Regions from separate parts of the Homo sapiens genome. Here region 2 is linked to region 1. Evidence: promoter capture Hi-C in human tissues and cell types (Jung and others, 2019). All regions are on one chromosome and are shown on one strand. Each heading gives the region's core, a stretch centred on a gene start or on the middle of the fragment in contact. The rest is flanking DNA. Distances are from core to core; before and after follow the strand shown. Region 1 holds the start of DEDD2 (death effector domain containing 2). Region 2 holds the start of CADM4 (cell adhesion molecule 4).

Evidence for each region. Contacts are between HindIII fragments. The study calls those that stand out against the background at their distance.
Region 2: a contact is called between the fragment with the promoter of CADM4 here and the fragment with the promoter of DEDD2 in region 1, in 1 of the 25 tissues and cell types used here (dorsolateral prefrontal cortex).

Annotation. Positions count from the first base shown.
Region 1 is chr19:42,213,139-42,219,813 of GRCh38, reverse strand. DEDD2 (death effector domain containing 2) reads left to right here and starts at 2,137. Exons shown (of 5, transcript NM_133328.4): 1 at 2,137-2,182; 2 at 2,769-3,134; 3 at 4,562-4,681. The coding sequence starts at 2,807. RefSeq lists enhancers at 26-901, 902-1,778 and silencers at 2,550-2,649, 2,660-2,719, 2,801-3,006. The HindIII fragment of the contact is 17,474 bases long and covers 1-6,675 here.
Region 2 is chr19:43,637,129-43,643,674 of GRCh38, reverse strand. It overlaps CADM4 (cell adhesion molecule 4), which reads left to right and starts at 3,825. Exons shown (of 9, transcript NM_145296.2): 1 at 3,825-3,948. The coding sequence starts at 3,885. RefSeq lists a silencer at 3,802-3,941. The HindIII fragment of the contact is 16,381 bases long and covers 1-6,546 here.

The DNA.
Region 1 (6,675 bases), core at 888-3,387:
GCAAGACAGAATCCTTCACAGTTTGTTAAATTGCTTTCCTATTCTCCCTACTCTTCGTTTGATTTAATGATAGTCACTTACCAGGCCCCCTTGTGAGTTTAGCCCAGGACTATGCTTCCGTAGCTTACCATTGCCATCCATTTGTTTCACAAGTAGGGAAACTGAGGCCCAGAGAGGGGAAGGGATTTCTTGGAGGGTTTGTTTGTTTGTTTGAGACGGAGTCTCACTCTGTCGCCCAGACTGGAGTGCAGTGGCACGATCTTGGCTCACTGCAACCTCCGCCTCCCGGGTTCAACCGATTCTCCTGCCTTAGCCTCCCGAGTAGTTGGGATTACAGGTGTCCACCACCACGCCCGGCTAATGTTTGTATTTTTTAGTAGAGACGGGGTTTTGCCATATTGGTCAGGCTGCTCTCGAACTCCTGATCTCAGGTGATCCACCCGTCTCGGCCTCCCAAAGTGCTGGGATTACAGGCGTGAACCACCGCGTCCGGTCTTGTTTGTTTGTTTGAGACAGAGTTTTGCTATTGTTGCCCGGACTGGAGTGCAATGGCGCAATCTCGGCTCACGGCAACCTCCGCCTCCAGGGTTCAAGCGATTCTCCTGCGTCAGCCTCCCGAGTAGCTGGGATTACAGGCATGCGTCAGCACGCCCGGCTAATTTTGTATTTTTAGTAGAGATGGGGTTTCTCCATGTTGGTCAGACTGGTCTCGAACTCCCGACCTCAGGTGATCCGCCCGCCTCGGCCTCCCAAAGTGCTGGGAATGCAGGCGTGAGCCACCGCACCTGGCGTTTGTTTGTTTCTTGAGACAAAGTCTCGCCCTGTGGCCCAGGCTGGAGTGCAGTGGCACTATCTCTGCTTACTGCTCCCTGGTTCAAGAGATTCTCTTGTCTCAGCCTCCCAAGTAGTTGGGATTTCAGGCGCGTGCCACCACATCCGGCTAAGAACAGACAGGGTTTCATCATGTTGGCCAGGCTGGTCTCGAACTCCTGGCCTCGTGTGATCCGCCCACCTCGGCTTCTCAAAGTGCTGGGATTACAGACGTGAGCTACCGCGCGCAGCCGATTCTTTTGAATTCACTGCTACAGCTCAGGCAGAGCCAGTACTGGGCCAGTGCTAGGCAGGACCCAGATCTCCCGACTCCCAAGAGGAGTTAATTGCGGGGGTGGGAAGAGGTCCAGGGAGGGGACTTGTCTCAAGTACATGCAGGTCCTGACCTTGAGTCACCTAAGTGGGGGGCGTGGCGACCGTCACACCCAAGGCCCCGCGGTAAGGGGACACGCATACACCACAGCCTAGACTCCCTGACAGACCCTCTCTAGTTGTTGCAAGTTAGGGAGCGGGTATCTGGGCGACCCTGGAGGGCAGAGATTGGAAGGGGTTACGGAGGGGCCGTTTTGGCTCTGGGTGGAGACATCTGACTGTGATGGGGGTCGTGATGGACGCCATCGAGATGTACACAGTCGGAATGGAGGGTTCTGTTGCCGCTTGGAAGGAGGTATCCGTCCTGAACGTGAGATGAGGGAATTCTGGTTTTGATCAGGGGAAGGAACTTATAGACTGCGGGGGTGGTGGTGGGGGGGCGGGATTTCCATTTGGGATCACGAGAGAGCACAGTTGAGATGTAGATCCCTGGTTGTCACTAGAAGTGAGGGACAATCTAATGGAGGAGTGCCCAGGACCAGATCATATAAGGCCTGGGAGTTTACTGGGAGACGGGAAAGTAGTGATTGTGTTACTTTGCCACGGGCAACTAGGGGCAGTGGTGATGTGGGCGTCTAGCTCGTGATCAGGAGGGGGCTGTAGTTTATGAGATGAGTAGTTACAACTACTCGTGACGTGGCGCTACATGGCCCCGGTGGCTTGAGTCACGGGCAGGAAGTAGGGACCTGGAACCGGGTACCAGATACAGCCCAAGAGGCGGCGTGCTCTCGCTCTGCGCAAGCGCAGCACTCGCGAACCAAGATGCTTCGGTTGGGGGCAGGTCAAGCGGCCCAGGAAGGGCGGGGCTTGGAGGCCTCGTTCTGCGCATGCGCCGAAGGGGCGTGGCGGTCGCACCTGCGCGAGTTGGGGGAAGGAGGAGGGGCGAGGTGACGCAGGCGTAATAATAGAGAAGGTGCCAGAAAGATCCAAAACAAGTGGCTGCGGCCGTCGCCCAGGAGTCATCGGACGCCAGAATCTGGTGAGGATCCAGAGAGGCCTAATGGTGACTGGTGGCGGGTAGACAGGACCACCTGGGCTCTGGGGAGCGGGCGGGGCCGCCCTTGCAGGGCGAGGGGGTCGGGTTCGGACGGTACCACCTGTGTGGAGCAAAGGGGCTGCCTGGGTCGCTCCTCTGTGTAGGGGGCAGAGGGTCACTTTCGGGAGGTACCACTTGCGTAGAGCCGGGGGACTCATCAGACGGTACCGCTGGACGGAGAAAAGGGGCTCGTCTGGGCAGTCCTACCCAGAGTCAGGGGCAGTCAGCAGGGAGCCCCGGGGTGGGCCCCGAGGCTTGTTTGGGCCGCATCGTTTGGTCAGGTCCGGAGGCGAGCTCCGAACGTAGCACGGTGGTGGGGGCAGAAGCCGAGCGGGCTCCGGCGTCCCGACCTGTTCTTAGGGGACCTCGGGCGGGACCATTCCCTCCCGGGGGAGGGGGAGGCCGAGGCGGTTGGGGGTGCGGGAGCGGCCCTGCCCGGCGCGATTGGGCGGGGGAGACGCGCTGGCGGTGTGGGGTTCGGGCCTCCGCGTCGCTGACCACTGCCCCCTCCCCGCTGTGTGGGTTCTAGGCCGGGTTCTGAGCTTGTTCCGCCTCCCTCCCCCGGGAATGGCGCTATCCGGGTCGACCCCGGCCCCGTGCTGGGAGGAGGATGAGTGCCTGGACTACTACGGGATGCTGTCGCTTCACCGTATGTTCGAGGTGGTGGGCGGGCAACTGACCGAGTGCGAGCTGGAGCTCCTGGCCTTTCTGCTGGATGAGGCTCCTGGCGCCGCCGGAGGCTTAGCCCGGGCCCGCAGCGGCCTAGAGCTCCTGCTGGAGCTGGAGCGCCGCGGGCAGTGCGACGAGAGCAACCTGCGGCTGCTGGGGCAACTCCTGCGCGTGCTGGCCCGCCACGACCTGCTGCCGCACCTGGCGCGCAAGCGGCGCCGGCCAGGTACGGTTGAATGGGAGGGTGTCACACTTCCTGGGAGGAAAGGGCCTGGCTCCCGCTGGGCCTCCCTGGTGCCCTGATACGGACAGTGCCATATCAGGCAGCTTATGTCCCATTCTGCTACTCTCTCTTCCCACAATATCAATGAGCAACATAAGAGGAAGAAAGCATGGCTTTGGGAATTTGGCCACATCAGTGATGATGATTTTGGCCACTGTTTACGGAGGGCTTGTTTCATGCCAGGCACAGCTGTCAGCCCTTCATATGAACTAGTGCCTTATAGTCTCCCAGTAATCTCACAAGGAAGTCCTGTTACTGTCTTCACTGTAACCAAGAAAATAACAAGTTCAGAGAAGTTAAGCAGTTTGCACGTATAATAACAATCCTGTTTGCTGGGCCTAGGAGGGATACAGGATGATGGAGCTGACAAGGTGTTTGTTCCATGAAGTTTAAGTTTAGTGGGGGCAATCAGATAATAAGAGAACTTATTTTTAGACGCTGTTGTAGGAAGACTAAAAGTAATGGAATAGAGAGAGTCAGGAGAGCAGCAAGGTGAAGGGAGGCTTTGCCCTGAGGCTGCACTGCCAGCCATGCATAGACCCCAGGGGAGAAAATCCCAGGGAGCATCCAAGGCCTGAGGTGGGAATGAGTTTGGCATCATCAGAGGCCAGTGTGGCAGGAGCAGAGGGGACCCAAGCTAGGGAAGAGAGGGAGGTAAGAAGTTATGTCATGAAGGGGCTTGCAGAGAACGTAGCTGGGAAGTGTGGGAGCCAGGATTCAAACCTAGCCAACTTGTCCCCAGAGTTGATGCCCTTAATCCTTGTGAAGGAAGTGCTCCTGGAGGATAGCAGCCTTCACATGAGAAGCTGGGAGGGGTTCAGGCTGCCGGTAGCCGTGTGCATGAATAGACCAAGCCTTTGTCTGGGTTACTAAAGGGGCAGTGGCTAGTTTGGGGAGGGGGGATTATGGCCTTCCCTGACCCAGAGTAAGCCCACAGGATTTAGATAAGCAGGAGAAGGACAGCTCTAGGGAAGAGCTGACAGCATTTTTGGATATCTATGTCTGAAGATCACGCTCTAGAAGAGAAGATTTGGGGAGCCTGCACAGAGGCCTGCTTACTCCTTGGGGAGAGCTGGGGGCAGTTGATGCCAGGGCAAAGGGCCATTACAGGGACCCTTACCATGACTATCAACAGAATAACCTTGACAGTTTGAGCTGCCGTAGACGTGGGTTAGATTGCCCCAAGTCGTGATAAGTTCTCTCTCTTAGGAGGCATCTGAGCAACCTCTGCAGGAGGTGTTTGAGAATGAGTGGGTATTTGGGCTCTGACTACTGGGGAACTTAGGCACCTCGTGGTGCAGGCATTCTTCCAGGGGTGGGAATTAGGGCCAGGAGGCTGAATGCTTCTTCCTGTTCTTCTCTTCCTCCAGTGTCTCCAGAACGCTATAGCTATGGCACCTCCAGCTCTTCAAAGAGGACAGAGGGTAGCTGCCGTCGCCGTCGGCAGTCAAGCAGTTCTGCAAATTCTCAGCAGGGTCAGTGGGAGACAGGTGAGCCCAGCTGGGTGGGTGTAATGGCAGCATCCCTCTTTTCCTTATGAATTGTGCCCATCAAGGAAGGGGCCTGAGGGGTTATTCTGTCTCATTTTCACTGTGTGTGTGTGTGTGTGTGTGTGTGTGTGTTTATTGCTACAGATACTCTGTTCTGAAGCAACATACAGAATTGTTGCACATAGTTTCGTGTTTCGTTTAAATGGCATTACATTGTGGGTATTACTCTGCACCTGGCTGTCTTTGCTAGATGTGTCTGAGATTTATTCATGCTGAGTATCTCTAATTGTATTATTTTAATTGCCATGCCCCAATTAACTTATTTATTCTCACCACCCCCAGTTTTTGTTTTTTTCTGTTTGGCTTTTTCAAGATAGGGGCTTGGTCTGTCACCCAGGCTGGAGTGCAGTGATGAAATCATAGCTCTCTGCGGCCTTGAACTCCTGGGCTCAAGCTGTCCTTCCACCTCAGCCTCTCAAGTAACTAGAACTACAGGGGTATGCCACCATGCCTGGCTAATTTTTTCATCCTTTATAGAGGTGTGGTCTCCCCCTTGTTGTCCAGGCTGGTCTTGAACTCCTAGCCTCAAGCAGTCCTCCCACCTCAGCCTCCCAAAGTGCTGGATTACAGGCATGAGCCATCATGCCAGCCACCTCTAGTTGTTGTTGTTGTTTTGAGGCAGAATCTCATTCTGTCACTCAGGCTTCGGTGCAGTGGTGCAATCTCGGCTCACTGCAACCTCTGCCACCCAGATTCAAGCAATTCTCCTGCCTCAGCCTCCCAAGTAGCTGGAACTACAGGCGCATGACACCATGCCTGGCTAATTTTTTTGTATTTTTAGTAGAGATGAGGTTTCACCATGTTGCCCAAGCTGGTCTCGAACTCCTGGCCTCAAGAGATCTGCCCACCTGGGCCTCCGAAAGTGTTGGGATTACAGGCTTGAGCCACTGCGCCCTGGCCACCCCTCTTTTTATTATGTGAAATTTCAAACATACAAGTTGAAAGATTAGTACAGTTAACATCTTCCACTTAGGTTCAATAATTGTTAAGATTTTGCTACTTTTGCTTTATGTGTATACGTAATTCTGGATTTTTTTGTTGAACCCTTTGAAAGTAAATTACAGACATCAGGATGCTTTACCCCTAAATTAGGCATCCGTGGAGAATAAGGATATTCTCCTGTACCACTTTAAGACTATTATACCTAAGAAAATAAACACGAATTCTCTGACATTCTAATGGTCCATTTTCAAAAATCCCCAGACTGTGGGACCGTTCAGAATCTATTCATAGTTGAGTTGGTATGCATTCAGTTGTTATGTCTCCTGCTATAGCACAGAAACTGCCCCTACACCCCATACCTTTTTCTTTTTCCTGTAACATTGATTTTTTCACCCTAGCAGGCCGGTTGTTTTGTAGAATGTCCTGATTGTTTCTTTATCTGTCTGTTTTTTTCCTGATGGAGTTATGTAACTCGTCCCTCTTTCCCTTACATTTTTTGTTAAATGGGAATTGTGTCTGAGGCTTGGTTAGATTCAGTTTATACATCTTTAGCAGGAATAATCCTTGGTTGCTGCCATCTAGTTCATATTGGAGTACATCTCCAGGCATGTACGGCCTGGCTTTTCCGATGTGGGAAAGTTTGGTCACTTGGTTAAGGGGATATCTGCCATGTTTGTCCATTGTGAAGGGACATTTAGTTCTCATGGTTAGTAAACAGTCTATGGGGTGATACTTTGGCATATCCTGTTCCCTAATAGCCATTTACTCAGTGGGTTTCACATCTATGAGCTTTGCCTGAACCAGTTATCACATTGGTGTTTGCAAAATGGTGATTTTTCTAATTCTTTTTCTTTTTTCTTTCTCTTTCAAGAGGTATTCCCCCAATGCCCCTTTGAGTTTGAGTGTCACTATAGACCCATACACTATTTACTGACTTGTTACAGTCAGTCAGTCTTCCTGCAGTTCCAACTGGCTAGCCTCTTGTGTCTTCT
Region 2 (6,546 bases), core at 2,576-5,075, 1.4 Mb before region 1:
ACAACACCAACCACCAGCCTTAGATATATGGCCCTTGATGCCCCTCCCCTCCATCTCCAGCTGTTCCAGCTAGTTCATTTTTGGCTCCAGTTCATCATGAAGCAGATACACACCAATCCTGCTCCAATTCCTGACTCACAGAATCATAAAATTAAAAGGTTGTTGTTTCACACCACTACGTTCTGGGGTATTTTGTTATTCAGCGATGGTTAAATGGAACAGTAATTTTTGTTTGTTTTTAGCTAACTTTCCCCATTATAATTGCCAGGGAGGGTAAGGCCGTTTATTTACTTGATGATTTATTCCTAGTGCCTGGAATATGGCAGGTGATGAAGAAAGAAAGGAGAGAAGGGACTGGGTGCAATGGCTCTTGCCTGTAATCCCAGCACTTTGGGAGGCCAAGGCAGGAGAACTGCTTGAGCCCAGGAGTTCAGGACCAGCCTGGGCAACATAGCGAGAGACCCTGTCTCTACATAATAAAAAAAAAAAAAAAGAAAGAAAGAAAGAAAAGAAAAAAGGGAAGGAAGGAAAGACTGCATCTTCTATGGCAACTTACAACAAAAATTGGGCCAGAAGTATATCTCCCATGATGCCCTACAGCAGAGATGAGGCTAAAACGACATTTTCTGAGATGCTCTGTATTATAATTGAGGATAATTTCACCTTTCCCATAATTCCCTACAACATATTGAGGCTAGGACTGCATTGCCTATGAAACTCTATGGCAGAGATTGAAGGTTAGGATTATATATCCCATGATGCCCTACAGTGGGGATCAGAGGATAGAAATACTTATTCCATGATGCCCTCCAGCAGATATTGAGGCTAGGGACAAATTTCTCACGTCCTATACCATAGCTTGTGATCAGGACCTCATTGTTAACGGCTCTGAAGTTGTTGTTCAGGAATCTTTGCTTGCAAGAAATAAAATCTGTTTGTGCTGACTTAAGCAAAAACGGTGTTATTGAAAGTTTAGAAACCAGGCAAGAGCTAGGTCTCCGAGTCTCACCAGGGACAGGCAACAATTGAAAAGCTGTGTGAAATAAAGGTTGTCTCTCTCTTGCAGAATCTTAATCACCCCAAATATGAATCTGGCCCCAGGGGTATCTGCCAGCCATCTTGCTACAGGAGGGGAGCCATGCATCCTTAGGACAGAGATTGACAGACCTCGCCAAAGCCAGCCATAGAAGGACTTTTTGTTATGTGTGAACCAGTTCTCTTTCTCTCAAACCAGTTGGGTTGCACTTGCTGTCACTTGCACTAAATCCCTAATGGACAGGGTACCCTGAAGTAGGATGGGGACAGGACCACTATTCTATTTATTATTATTATTATTATTATTATTATTATTATTATTATTATTTAGACTGAGTCTCATTCTGTCACCCAGGCTGGAGTGCAGTGGCATGATCTTAGCTCACTGCAACCTCTGCCTCCCAAGTTCAGGGGATTCTCATGCCTCAGCCTTCCGACCAGCTGGGATTACAGGCACGTGCCACCACGCCTTGCTAATTTTTTTTTTTTTTTTTGGTAAAGATGGTGTTTCACCATGTTGGCCGGTTGGTCAGGCTGGTCTCAAACTCCTGACCTCAAGTGATCGGCCCACCTTGGCCTCCCAAAGTGCTGGGATTACAGGTGTGAGCCAACGCGCCCGTCAGGACCACTACTCTTGTGATGTCTTCACATGGAATGGTGGGACTTAAGGATGACAGGTGAGAACCAAACCAACATCTCCCAAGGTTCCCCTTCAGCTGGAGCAGGAGACATCTGTCAGAGCACAGAGTGAGCGGGCCTATTGGCTCCTGCGGGAAAAGGCAACTACTAGTTACCCCTTGGACCAGTATTCCAAAGGCAGATCAAACATTCCTCTCCCATCTAGCAAAAGTCACAGAATGTGAGCCCTGGAAAGAGGATTAGAGACTATCTCTTCCCAAGTCTACAGAAGCTGGGAAGCTGAGGACTGAAAAAGAAGGAAGTTGCTCAGGGCTATGGATCTGGGGACACAGGGGCAGTTAGAAGCTTGGGCTCTCAGGACAGAGAGGATTGCTGGAGCCATCGTCCTGGGGACACAGGAGTTGATAGGAGCTTGGACCCTGAGGACAGAGAGGATGCTGGGAGCCATGGTCCTGCTTCACAGGGGTTGATGGGAGCTTGGACCTGAAGGACAGAGAGGATGCTGGGAGCCGTGGTCCTGAGGACACAGGAGTTGATGGGAGCTTGGACCCTGAGGACAGAGAAGACACTGGGAGCCATGGTCCTGGGACACAAGGGTTGATGGTAGCTATGGTTTTGAGGTCAGAAAGGATACTGGGAGCTGGGTACTGAGGACAGAAAGGGTGTGTGAAGCTGAAGTCCCTTGTGGGACTGGATGTAAAATTTTTTAGTCGGAATAAAAAGTAAGGATTTTCAGCCAGGCATGGTGGCTCACGCCTGTAATCCAGCACTTTGGGAGGCCAGACAGATGGATCACCTGAGGTAAGGAGTTCAAGACCAGCCTGGCCAGCATGGCAAAACTCCGTCTCTACTAAAAATATAAAAATTAGCTAGGCATGGTGGCGGGCGCCTGTAATCTCAGCTACTCGGGAGGCTGAGGCAGGAGAATCACTGGAACCTGGGAGGCAGAGGTTGCAGTGAGTCGAGATCGTGCCACTGCACTCCAGCCTGGGCAACAGAGCGAGACTCCGTCTGGGCGGGGAGGGGGGAGGGGGGAAGGAAAGATGTTCATAATTGGCACTTCTGGACCTCAGTTTGCCTGACAAATGGGCATGAGAGAGGTCGAGGCCTTCTTTCCATGGTTTCTCACTCTTTCTGGGTCCCATAGGTAATGATCCCGCATCAGGTCTACAGGGTGTCACAGAAGTGGGCTCAGGGAAACCCACTCCCAGGAGGGAGAAGGGACCTAAGTCTGGAGGGGTGAGTCACCCTCAAAGATGGGGAGAGAGGAAGGGCAGAGGCAAATACATGCAGAGAGAGGGAGAGAGGCTGGGGCAGGGAGACAGCAGGGAGGAGAGGGGACGCCAGGGCTTGGAAGGTGTTCACAGGAGCCTCTCCCTCCTGGGACCCAGGATTCAGGCTTCCTTCCAGTTAGTTCACTTTCAGGGGGCCCCTCCCGGAGAATGACGCGGAAACACGGGGTTTTCAGGTCAGGACAGGAGAGAGGGAGGGAGGGAACTGACCCCACCCCACTCCTGAGCCCCAGCCTCGCCCTGCCCTGGGAGATCCTTGACCTGCCTCGACCTCCGGACCCTCCGGACCTCCAGCTGCAGCCTCCCCTGTCCCGGTGGCTCAGCTCACAGCCTCTCGCTAGACTCCAGACACCCACCTGCCCGCAGCACGCCTCTCACACTCACCTTTCCCACGTCGCACTCCCTCCCTTACGCTCCCCCGTCACGCTGGCCACGCTCTCCCTTCGCACACACCGCACCCCACGACGCCCGCGCCCCCACCCTCGCACAGCCTCCAGCAACACCCTGCCACCCTCCCCTCCGCGCAGCGCAAGCACCCTGCATGCCAGCAACTCCGCACCCTCGCGCGCAGCACCTGGGCCCGCACGCAGCACCCTCACCCAACACCCTCCATTTCCCGCGCTCACCGAGATCCCCCACCTGCTCCCACGCCGCTGTCGCCCTCCCGCGCACCCCTTCCCGCCCTCCTCACCCCTCTCCTCTCCAGCTTTCGCACCCCGCACCGTTCCCCCACCGTGCCGTCCCCCCGATTGTCTCCGGGCCTCTCCTCCGTCTCCCCCTCCCCTCCCCGGCCCCGCCCCGGCCTCGGCGCCCCGCCCCCGGGCGGGCAGGGGGCGGGGCGCGGGGGGCGGGGCGGGCGGCGCGGGCGGTGCAGGTGCCGGGCCGGGAGCGAGCGGCGGCGGCGGCGGCGGCGGCACCATGGGCCGGGCCCGGCGCTTCCAGTGGCCGCTGCTGCTGCTGTGGGCGGCCGCGGCGGGGCCAGGTAGGGTCGGGGGCCGGGGTCGGCCGGCCGGGCTGGGGCGGGGGGCGCGCTGTGGTGACAGCCCGGCAGCCTCGGGGCCGCAGAGGCCGAACAATGCGCGCGGGGCCGGGCCGGGCCCCCTCCCCGGGACAAAGCGCAGCGCGGGCCGGGAGCCGGGAGCGACGAGCGGGGGAGGGGGCGCGGGGCCCGGCCGCCGTGCCGCAGCCCCCCCACCCGCGCAGGCTGGATCCCGGCGGGGACAAAGGGCCCGAGACCCCCCTACACACACAAGTCCGCCCTCCCCAGGCCGGTCCCGCTGTCCTTCTGTCCAGTCTCTGCGTCCCTCTGTCCGCCCGTCTCTGAACCCCCCCGTCTGGCTCCTCGTCCCCCTACCCTTGTCCTCTATCCCTCAGTCTCGAAGTCCTGTCCCTCCTTCTGTCTGTCTCCCTCTCTTCTTGCCTCGGTGTTCCTCATCTATTCTGTCTTTGTCCCCTACCTCTGTCCCCTGGTCTCTGTCCCCTTTTCCTGGGTCACTCTGTCCCCTCCATCATCCTGTCTATTCTCTTTCCCCCGGATTTCTGCCCTCCCTCTCTGCCCCTATTCTTGGTCCCTGTCTCTGTCTCGCTGTCACCCTTGTTTTTCTGTCCCTTTTTCTCTGTCCCCTATCTGCCCCATCCCCTTGTCTCTGTCCCCTGTCTTTCTGTCACTCGTTTCTCTAACCCTTTCTGTCACCTGTCTCTTTCCCCCTTCTCTGTCCCACTATCTCCATCCCTGTCTTTCTGCTGTGCCTCCTCTCTCTACGCTTACAGCCTCCATCCCGGGATCTCCCATTCCCATCCTACCTTCCTCCCTCTCTCTATCCCTCTGTGCCCCTGAAGAGGAATTCAGTCAGGCAGGGCATTCTAAAGAGCCCTGGAGGGGAACATCTGTGTGCATGTGTGTGGGGAAGTGAGAATGGGGGACCTTGGCGTGTAGGCACACACGTGGATTCAGCGAATGCCTCTCCAAACCCTGCTCACCCATTCACACACCCAGGCTTGACTCACAGAGAAGCCCCTGTCCAGGACATCCAGGGAGCCATCCACATACCCTCATCACACACTGTGAGAAGCTGGAGACCCCCGAGGTTGGGTGACCCTGAGAATGGGGACAAGGTCAGGAAATGTCACCCACACACACTCTCACACTGTGTAAGTCTTGAACCTGCCACGGGTCACCCCTCCCTGGTGGATAAGGCCACTTTTGGAAGGAACAGAGGATTGGAAGGTGGCTAGGCAGAAGCAGGAGGGCTGGGTGTTCGGCAGAGATTGGTGAGAGGAGTTATAACCAGGTGGCATGGGGCTGGCGGCCTGGGCTTAAATCTTGGCTCTTGCCATTTGCCATCGCAGCCAATGGTAAACACCTTCCTCTCTCCAGGCTTCTGTTTCTCTTTCTGTAAAGTGAGGATGTTGAACTCAGTGACATGAAAGGGAACGCCAGCTCAGACCGTGAAGGGGTTTCTGGCAAGTTGAGTGCGGTTACATGTTCCCCACTCCAGGGTTTGAGGCAGAGCCATCCTCACCTCGGCCAGGATGAGGGGCAAAGCTGTCCTCTCACTGTCTTTCTTTCTTCTCTAGTCTTCTGTGACTGCTTTAGAACTTGCATCATTACCTCCTTTCTTTACAACAGACATGCCACAATTTCCCAGATGAGAACTTTGGTACCTCAGTGACATTTCCATCAATTTTAATTTATCTTTATTTTTTAGGCTAAACACCAGGCTCATAGAATCCTGGAACTAATGAATCCAGTAAATAAAGAACCTGATGGTACTTTAGAATGCTGACATCTACAGGATTCTAGAATCCAGAAGGCTTTAGAATCTTGACACCTTTAAAGTTCTAGAACCGTGATGGTGTTAGCATGCTAGCATCTTGACGTCTTAAAAATCGTGAAATCTTGATGTCTTGGAGTTCCTGGATCTTGACATCTATGACATTTAGAATCCTGACAGCTTAGAATCATCAGACTTTGAATTCTCAGGATCAGAATATAGCTTAAGGTGACCACCCGCCCCGTGCAAAAGCCTTTCTCTGGTGCTTCTGGGAGTTAGGTCTACAGCCCTGTCCCTCGTTTGATTTCCAAGTCACTGCTTCCTGGCACCCTAACCCTCTCTGTAAACTTTCTCTAAAGTAAATAGTATGTGGCTTTTACCAGTAGAAACTGAGCTTGGTGTCATGGGAAGAGCTCTCAGCTGGGAGCTAAGGAACTTGGGTCCAAGCCTTACCCAGGACCCTTTAGTATAATTTTGCATCAGTCCTTGTCCCTCTCTGGGCCTTACTTTCCCGTTCTGTAAAGCATGGGGTAGGAGGCTGTAGCATGTGGTCTTGGAGGGCCCTTCCTGCTCTCCTTTCCATTGGATATTTCTCAGTGGCCTTGGCTACCACATTTTAGGGGGTATCTGTTGTTCCCACATTTCTCTCTTAGTCACTTCTTCCTCTCTCACCTTGCCCAGCCAGCAGGAATCGGGGGAGATGGGGTGCATTTGCGCCATTTTAAAAACATGTTCTCTCTCTCCTGGTTCATTCATCTTCTGAGCATAGCAGAAGAAGATGAGATTTATGCCCAAAGAAGGATCCA